2 separate regions of the Homo sapiens genome follow, and region 1 is linked to region 2. The links are contacts of gene promoters, found by promoter capture Hi-C in blood cells and fetal thymus (Javierre and others, 2016). All regions are on one chromosome and are shown on one strand. The core of a region is centred on a gene start or on the middle of the fragment in contact, and the rest is flanking DNA. Distances in the headings are between cores, read along the strand shown. Region 1 has its middle 11 kb from the start of OR9G1. Region 2 holds the start of OR10AG1 (olfactory receptor family 10 subfamily AG member 1).

Region 1 (4,953 bases), core at 1,318-3,817, 740 kb after region 2:
GAACAAATAGTCTACCCACCTGAGAAGAAACCAGAAAAGTAATTCTGGTAATGTTTTTAAAAAAACACTCTCAAAAGATCACACAAGCTCTCTAGCGATGGATCCAAACCAAGATGAAATTTTTGACATACCAGATGAAGAATTCGAAAGGTTGATTATTAAGCTACTCAAGGATTTACATGAAAAAGGTAAAAACTAGTGTAAAATAATTTTTAAAACAAGAATACAACTGAAAAGTTTTCTAAACAGATAGATATTTTGAAGAAAAAACAATCAGAACTGTTGAAAATTGAAGACATATTTAAAGAATAACAAAATTCCACAGAAAATTTTAATAATAGACTAGACAGTGTAGAAAAAAGAATTTCAGAATTTGAAGACAAGGGTTTGAATTAACCCAATCATACAAAACTAAAGGAAAAAGAATAAAAAGAAATCAACAAAGTCTCCAAGAAATATAAGATTATGTAAAACATCCAAACCTAAAAATAATTTGTGTTCCTGATTGAGAAGGAAAGGCAAAAAGTTTGAAAACCTTTTTTGAGGGAATAATTGAGGAAAACTTCCCTGGCCTTGCAAGACATTTAGGCAACCAAACACAAGAAGCTTAAAGGACTCCTGGGGAATTCACTGCAAAAAGGTCATCACCAAGGCATACGGTCATCATGCTATCTAAAGTCAACGTAAAGGAAAGAATTCTAACAGCAATAAGAAAAAATGCACCAAGTAACCTATAAAACAAACCTATCAGACTAACAGCAGACTTCTCAGCAGAAACCTTACAAGCTAGGAGAGATTGGGGTCCTATCTTTAGCCTCCTTAAACCGAATAATGGTCAGCCAAGAATTTTTTATCCAGCAAAACTAAGTTTCATGAATGAAGGAGGAATAAAGTATTTCTCAAACAAAAAAAGGTTGAGGAGATTTGTCACTACCAGACTAGAAATGCTAAAAGGATTTCTAAATCTTGAAACAAAAGGTTGATATGCACCAGAATAGGACACCTTGAAAGCATAAAATTCACAGGTCCTTTAAAATAAGAACACAATGAAGAAAACAAAGTCTTAGGTAGCAACAAACATGATTACTGGAACAGTACCCCACATCTCAATATTAACACTGAATGTGAATACAGAATGGCATAATAAATTTTTAAAAATCACAAACCAAACATCTGCTGTCTTCAAGAGACACACCTAACATGTAAGGATTCTTGCAGGTAAAGGGGTGAAAAAGATATTCCATGCAAATGGAAACCAAAAGCAAGCAAGCAAGAATAGCTATTCCTGTATCAGATAAAACAGACTTTAAAGCAACAACACTAAAAAAAAAGATGAAGGAGGTCATTACATAACGATAAAAGGATCAATCCAAAAAGAAGATGTAACAATTATAAATATAAATGCATCTAACTCTGGAGCTCCTAAACTCATAAAACAATTATTACTAGGCCTAAGAAAAGAGATAGTGAGCAACAAAATAGTAGTGGGGAACTTCAGTACTCTGGTGACAATACTAGACATTATCTAGGCAGAAAGTCAACAAAGAAACACTGGGCTTTAAACTGAACTCCAAAAAAAAAAAAACAATGAACCTAACAGATACTTACATAACATTCTACCCAAGAGCTGAATATACATTCTTCTCATTAGCATATGGAATATTCTCCAAGGTAGACTATATGATAGGCCACAAGCAAGTCTTAACAAATGTAAAAATATCAGAATCATATCAAGTATCTTCTCAGATCACAAGAGAACAAAACTAGAAATCAATTCCAATAGGAATCCTCAAAACTACATAAACACATGGAAATTAAACAATCAGCTCCTGAATGATTTTTGGTTTAATAAAGGAATCAACATTGAAATTTTAAAATTCTTCAAAATTAATGATAACAGTGACGCAAATTATCAAAACCTCTGGGATGCAGCAAAAACAGTGCTAAGAGGAAAGTTTATAGTGCTAAATGCATATGTTACTCTGTCTGAAAGATCACAAATTGACAACCTAATGTTACATCTCAAGGAAGTAGAGAAACAAGAAGAAACCAAACCCAAAGCTAGCAGAAGAAAAGAAATAACAAAGATCAGAGCAGAACTAAATGAAATTCAGACTAAAAAAATGGTTTTTTGGAAAGACAAAAAATTGGTAGACCATTAGCTATTAACTAAGAAGAGAGAAGTTTCTCTTTTTTTTCCTTTTTTTAAAATTTATACTTTCAGTTCTAGGGTACATGTGCACAACGTGCATGTTTGATACATAGGTATAAATGTGCCATGTAGGTTTGCTGCACCCATCAACTCATCATTTACATTAGGTACTTCTCCTAATGCTATCCCTCCCCCAGCCCACCACTCCCTGACAGGTCCCAGTGTGTGATGTTCCCTGCCCAGTGTCCAAGTGATCTAATTGTTCAATTCCCACCTATGAGTGAGACATGTGGTGTTTGGTTTTCTGTCCTTGTGATAGTCTGCTGAGAATGATGGTTTCCAGCTTCATCCATTTACCGGCAAAGGACATGAACTGATCCTTTTCTGTGGCTGCATAGTATTCCATGGTGTATATGTGCCACATTTTCTTAATCCAGTCAATCATTGGTGGACATTTGGGTTGGTTCCAAGTCTTTGCTATTGTAGTGCCACAAAAAACATACGTGTGCATGTGTCTTTATAGTAGCATGATTTATAATCCTTTGGGTATATACCCAGTAATGGGATTGCTACATCAAATGGTAATTCTAGTTCTAGATCCTTGAGGAATCGCCACACTGTCTTCCACAATGGTTGAACTAATTTACACTCCCACCAACAGTGTAAAAGCATTCCTATTTCTCCACACCCTCTCCAGCATCTGTTGTTTCCTGACTTTTTAATGATTGCCATTCTAACTGGTGTGAGATGGTATCTCATTGTGGTTTTGATTTGCATTTCTCTGATGGCCAGTGATGATGGGCATTTTTCATGTGTCTGTTGGCTACATAGATGTCTTCTTTTGAGAAGCGTCTGTTCATATCCTGTGCCCACTTTTTGATAGGGTTGTTTGTTTTTTTCTTGTAAATTTGTTTGAGTTCTTTGTAGATTCTCTATATTCGCCCTTTGTCAGATGGGTAGATTGCTAAAATTTTCTCCCATTCTGTAGGTTGCCTTTTCACTCTGATGGTAGTTTCTTTTGCAGGGCAGAAGTTCTTTAGTTTGATTAGATCCCATTTGTCTATTTTGGCTTTTGTTCCCATTGCTTTTGGTGTTTTAGTCATGAAGTTCTTGCCCATGCCTATGTCCTGAATGGCATTGCCTAGGTTTTCTTCTAGGGTTTTATGGTTTTAGGTTTAACATTTAAGTGTTTAATCCACCTTGAATTAATTTTTGTATAAGGTGTAAGGAAGGGAGATTCAGTTTCAGCTTTCTACATATGGCTAGCCAGTTTTCCCAGCACCACTTATTAACTGGGGAATCCTTTCCCCATCTCTTGTTTTTGTCAGGTTTGTCAAATATCAGATGGTTGTAGATGTGTGGTGTTATTTCTGAGGCTTCTATTCTGTTCCATTGGTCTATATATCTGTTTTGGTACCAGTACCATGCTGTTTTTATTACTGTAGCCTTGTAGTGTAGTTTGAAGTCAGGTACCGTGGTGCCTCCAGCTTTGTTCTTTTGGCTTAGGATTGTCTTGGCAATACGGACTCTTTTTGGGTTCCATATGAACTTTCAAGTAGTTTTTTCCAATTCTGTGAAGAAAGGCATTGGTAGCTTGGTGGAGATAGCATTGAATCTATAAATTACTTTGGGCAGTATGGCCATTTTCATGATATTGTTTCTTCCTATCCATAAGCATGGAACATTTTCCCATTTGTTTGTGTCCTCTTGTATTTCATTGAGCAGTAGTTTGTTGCTCTCCTTGAAGAGACCCTTCACATCCCTTGTAAGCTGGATTCCTAGGTATTCTATTCTCTTTGAAGCAATTGTGAATGGGAGTTCACTCATGATTTGGCTCTCTTTCTGTTTGTTAATGGTGTATAGGAATACTTGTGATTTTTGCACATTGATTTTGTATCCTGAGACTTTGCTGAAGTTCTTTATCAGCTTAAGGAGACTTTGGGCTGAGATGATGGGGTTTTCTAAATATACAATCATGTCATCTGCAAACAGGGACAATTTGACTTCCTCATTTCTTAATTGAATGCCTTTATTTCTTTCTCTTGCCTGATTGCCCTGGCCAGAATTTCCAACACTATGTTGAATAGGAGTGGTGAGAGAGGGCATCCCTGTCTTGTGCCAGTTTTCAAAGAGAATGCTTCCAGTTTTTGTCATAAATAGCTCATTATTTTGAGATACATTCCATCAATACCTAGTTCATTGAGAGTTTTTAGCATGAAGGGCTGTTGAATTTTGTCAAAGGCCTTTTCTGCATCTATTGAGATAATCATGTGGTTTTTGTCATTGGTTCTGTTTATGTATGGATTACGTTTATTGATTTGCATATATTGAACCAGCCTTGCATCCCAGGCAGGAAGCCGACTTGACTGTGCTGGAGAAGCTTTTTGATGTGCTGCTGGATTCGGTTTGCCAGTATTTCATTGAGGATTTTCACATCAATGTTCATCAGGGATATTGGTCTAAAATTCTCTTTTTTTGTTGTGTATCTTCCAAGCTTTGGTATCAGGAGATATTGGCCTCATAAAATGAGTTAGGAAGGATTCCCTCTTTTTCTCTTGATTGGAATAGTTTCAGAAGGAATGGTACCAGTTCTTCTTTGCACCTCTGGTAGAATTTGGCTGTGCATGCATCTGGTCCTGGATTTTTTTTGGTTGGTAGGATATAAATTATTGCCTCAGTTTCAGATCCTGTTATTGGTCTATTCAGAGATTCAACTTCTTCCTGGTTTAGTCTTGGGATGGTGTATATGTCCAGAAATTTATCCATTTCATCTAGATTTTCTAGTTTATTTGCATAGAGGT
Region 2 (5,039 bases), core at 364-2,863:
GGGGTGAATTTTTATTAGTAGTATTATGATGCCATTGCACATCAGGATCATCAAATACATAAGTAAAAATATACTAAAAAGCATCCAGTGGAGATTGGGAATATCAGAAAACCCCAAAAGAACAAATTCCATTATTGTAGTCACATTTGATTTTTCTCTTTTAGTTTGCTCTCCATCTGCAGATATAGCAAATTCAAGACAGTTAATTCATCCATATTTTGAACAATATTTTCCTCTTGGGTTAACTAAATGAGATACAGGAATATACTTACTTAAGCTCTTAAGTCATTTTCACCAGTACTTGCTCTGTTTCTAGATAATAAACTGATTTAGCATTAAAATCAATTTAAGAAATGAAACCTCAATATATTTTATTATACTGGGATATAATGCAACCAGAGGCATTGAGAAGCATGCATTGTTGTTTAGAAAATATTATGGAGGAATAACATCTTATTATTTCACACTTAAGAGTAGAGTTATAGTGTAGGCTTTTACTATTTCATCTGAGAATATCATTTTTCTTTGTATTGGTAGTCATATTCCAGTTTTTTTAATTCAAAATGTTGCCCTTGAATATTACGATTAATTCATACTCAAAATGAATTTTAAACTTTTCCTTTTATGCACCAGTGAGAATCAATTATCTTAAACAATTTCTTGGTTACTGAGAGACTAAATACATGCATTATTGTTGCTCTACTTCATGTCTCTCTCCTATTATTTATGCTAAATATAAAAACACTAATACCAGTAGGCAGTTTATTGACTTCCCCTGTTATTGCCCTGAATACAGTGAATGCTAAATAGTAATTAAATTATAACTTAATCAAGATGTAGAAATTCATCACAATTTTTTTTACATTTCTTTTTTTTATCTAAGTGAATTTCTCCATTGTCATATAACCAAATACAGTTCCTTTCAACCAAATACAATTCCTTCTCTCTATTTTCCCTTCATCCTGTTGCCTTATTAAAGTAAAATTCTTTGATTAAACCCAGCTAACATTTACTCTGGCCATCTAAGTGGCCAGAGCATATAAATGGGACCAAAAAATTAAACAAAACAAAACAAAAACACACTGTCTTGCTTCACTTCATGTCAATGTCATCCAATATGAGGAAATCACTGCTTGTCAATTCCCATTACACTTGCTTAACGTTTGTTCTCCAACTTTCTAAACAAATTCTTTTTTTCTGTGTCTTCAAATCTGCTGCACCTATACCTATTTTAGCCCGGTCAGCCAATGCATTTGACTTAATACGTTGATAAATGAAAGTGATCAGACAAATACTATCTCATATTTATACATTTCTATTAGTACTAGTTTTCAAAATTGCCTTAAATGACTTTTCATCACTAATGCAATTTTACCATTATTGGACATCTAATTTTATTTAACTTTGTAGTGAAGAGATACATGATTTAAATGTTAAATAATTAATTTTCAGATAAAGGTCTCAAAATTTCATGCTTTTCTGTTTTATTAGTTGCATTTCTATCCACAAACTTGTAACTATTCTTAAATAAAATAGTCTGTCAACCCAATTATGGCTTACCTTTAGGGATTTGCATGAAGCTGTCTGTACAGACTTTTTAAGCTCTTCCTTTTCTCGGGAACTGTAATTTTGCAATACGCTTGCTTGTTTCAAACAGCAACAGCTCTTATATAGGAATAGTCAGACTCAACCTGGGATGTGTCTTCTCTTGAGTATCAGTTTAATTTCTAGAAGGCTGCTTCTGTTTGTCAATCATTCTGATTCATTTTTCAAAACTACTTTAAGTAAACTTATCCTCCTCTTCATCTCCTCATGAGGGGAGTTAATTAAATACCATTTAGTTGTCTAGTATTACTTTCAGGAAAAAGTTAAAAATTTTCCAACTGTGTATTTGAGGCCCCTAATACTTAGTGTGGATTTGTCTGCCTTACTTCTATTCCAATAATTTATCCAGATCCAAATTAACTAGACCTTTAAAAAATATATCATGTGTTTAATCACACGAACATGATATGCTTGATGTCTTCGACATATTGAACGGTGAGATTCTTTTTCAGATGTGGAACCCTCTGTTCCTAGGTTAACTTTTTTTGTGGATATTAAAACATGTTAATTCTGCTGAGAAAATCTATCTATACATTTATTTCATTCTGTGTTGTCTATAAGGCACCAGGGAAATGTATCCAGCTGATTGAAAATGTAATATACCACTCCAAGACGTCCCACTAGACGCAGTCAAGAGGAACATCGCCCACGAGGGACCAGGACATCAGGAAGATTGGTGCACTCCTAGCAAATCTTCAGAAGGAAAGGAATTCTGCATGGGGGTACCACACACAGGAAGCATTCCTGGCCCCCAGTGACTCCTGCAAAAGCATGAGTTGAATGGGCAAGGAGCAACCCTCTCTTTCCATGAGCCTCCGAATCCCAGCAGGAGAAAACCCCTGGACCACAAGTAACACTTGAACTGGCAGGGAGAGATGCTTAGACAAGTGGTAGGGGCAGAACTCCAGCCTGTGTGGAATCCAGAGGGTTTAGTGTGAAAGTGTCTGTAGTGGAGCATGGCCAGGGATGCCCATCCCCCCAGGCTTGACCTGCTCCCGTAGGAAGCTTTAGCCCTATGGGAACTATGGGACCTGAATTCTGCACGGCAGTCTCACCCACTACATGAGGCTATTCTAACTTCAGCACCACTCAGTTTGCTGGCCTCTCCTGGGTCCCAGCTTGGCCCCCAGCCAGGTACCTCCTGGGGGCCACATCATAGCTCCTGTGCTGGTGGACCCCCGGCTGACCAGCAGACTGATCCAGCAGAGTAGCCTGTGCAGACACAGGCCAGCCCACCAGCACCCTCCCTGCACTGCAGCCTCTCGGGCCACTTTGCCTGCACTCACTCACCCATAGCCACCCCCTATTTATGTCTCTCTCCTATTATTTATGCTAATTATAAAAACACTAATACCAGCATCCCTTTGCCAGTGAGTGTGTGTGCCAGAGGACATTGCCTTCCCTTCCCTGCCACTGTGAGTGTGCCCATACATCCTGTGTGCCACTGCTCCCGGAGTGAGTGCACCTTTGGCCCTGCTGCAGAGCCGTTGTCCTCGGAGCGTTTGTGGGCCCGTCCCTCCCTGAGCGGGTCTAATGGTCACTAACTAGTGATCATTAGAGAAATGCAAATCAAACTTTCCATCACTAACCAGTGATCATTAGAGAAATGCAAATCAAAACCACAATGAGATAGATACCATCTCACACCAGTCAAAATCACTATTATTAAAAAGTCAAAAAATAACAGATGCTGGTGAGGTTGCAGTGAAGAGGCAACACTTACAGTGTCTTGATGGGAGTGTAAATTAGTTCAACCATTGTGGAAAGCAGTGTGACGATTCCTGAAAGAGGTAAAAACAGAACTGCCATTCTACCCCATAATCACATTACTGGCTCTAGATCCAAAGGAATAGAAATCATTCCATTATAAAGATGCATGCACACATACATTCATTGCAGCACTATTCTCAATAGCATAGACATGGAATCAATCTATATGTCCATCAGTGGTAGACTAGATAAAGAAAATGTGGTACGTATACATCATGGAATCCTATGAAACCATTAAAAAAGAAGACTATGTCCTTTGCAGGAACATGGATGGAGCTGAGGGCCATTATCCTTAGCGAACTAACTCAAGAACAGAAAACCAAATACTGCATGCTCTCACTTAAAAGTGAGAGCTAAGTGATGGGAACACATGGACACATGGAGGGCCTACCTGAGGATGGAGAATGAAAGGAGGGAGAGGAGCAGAAAAAATAACTATTGGGTACTAGGCTTAATACCTGGGTGAGGGCCAGGCACTGTGGCTCAAGCCTGTAATCCCAGCACTTTGGGAGGCCGAGGAGGGCGGATGACCTGATGTCAGGAGTTCGAGACCAGCCTGACCAACATGGAGAAATCCCATCTCTACTAAAAATACAAAATTAGCCAGGTGTAGTGGTACATGCCTGTAATCTCAGCTGCTAGGGAGGGTGAGGCAGGAGAATCACTTGAACCTGGGAGGTGGAGGTTGCGGTGAGCCGAGATCGTGCCATTGCACTCCAGACTGGGCAACAAGAGTGAAACTCTGTCTCAAAAGAAAAACAAAAAATAATACCTGGGTGAAATCTGTACAACAAACCCCATGTGGAACAACCCTTCAAATGGACACCTGAACCTACAATAAAAAAAAAAAATTTAATGCAAGCCACTTCAAAAATAAACATTTTAAACTAGATTATTTAAAACAGAAGGAAAAGAAGAAACTTTTCAACATCCTTTCCCTATTGCAGCTACTTCCGGGTGTGTATGGTGATGTTTCTCAGGCATAAAATCAGGAGCACCAAATCTACTTCTATGTGGAGTTACATTTGTTTCTTCTTGTTTGGCGTTCTATGACCATTTGACAGTATGTTTCTAAAACCAACTTCCTCTATGCATGCTAAATCTGCTTCTCTATACCACAGCATGCCTCTCCTACATTGTTCCTCTGTACTCTTTATTATCACTGATTTGGTATGTCCAAAGAGGGCTTTCTTCATTTCCATCTACAATTGAAAATGGTACTCATGATTTTCCAGAAACTTTCCATTACCAGGTTGGGACAAGCTGAATGTCCATTTTCCACTGGAGTACACTGGTGTATTATGAAAAAGGAGAATTGGATAAATTGGGTATTTCATAATTCATTTAAATACCACAGTGACCTGAACAAGTCTAAAACCTGAAACATTACCACAGATATATCAACGCCTTATCAAAATAAAGAAGTATCTTACATTCATATCATAGTGCAATGTGGTGGTTAGTAATTAAAAAACTCTATTTCCTTCCATCTGATAGTCCTATTGTTCCCTAGGTCATCTTTGTAGTTCTCTATTGGACCACGAGCATTCAGAGAGCTGAGAACCAAGTATGGACAGAGCATAAGGAAAGAAACTCCCTCTAAAGAGTCTCAGCACATGATAGATGCGTCATTTCCACACATATGCTATTGTAGAAACTATTAA

What was found. Contacts are between HindIII fragments. The CHiCAGO score rates a contact against its expected background, and 5 or more counts as called.
Region 1: a fragment that was not itself captured here is called in contact with the fragment with the promoter of OR10AG1 in region 2 in 1 of 17 cell types (erythroblasts); the score reaches 5.3 in erythroblasts.

What each region holds. Positions count from the first base shown.
Region 1 is chr11:56,707,215-56,712,167 of GRCh38, forward strand. No RefSeq gene overlaps it. Among named protein-coding and RNA genes, the nearest start is that of OR9G1, 11 kb to the left of the region's middle. The HindIII fragment of the contact is 3,926 bases long and covers 605-4,530 here.
Region 2 is chr11:55,968,332-55,973,370 of GRCh38, forward strand. OR10AG1 (olfactory receptor family 10 subfamily AG member 1) reads right to left here and starts at 1,614. Exons shown (of 2, transcript NM_001005491.2): 1 at 1,561-1,614; 2 at 1-176. The coding sequence starts at 1,576. The HindIII fragment of the contact is 3,009 bases long and covers 1-2,608 here.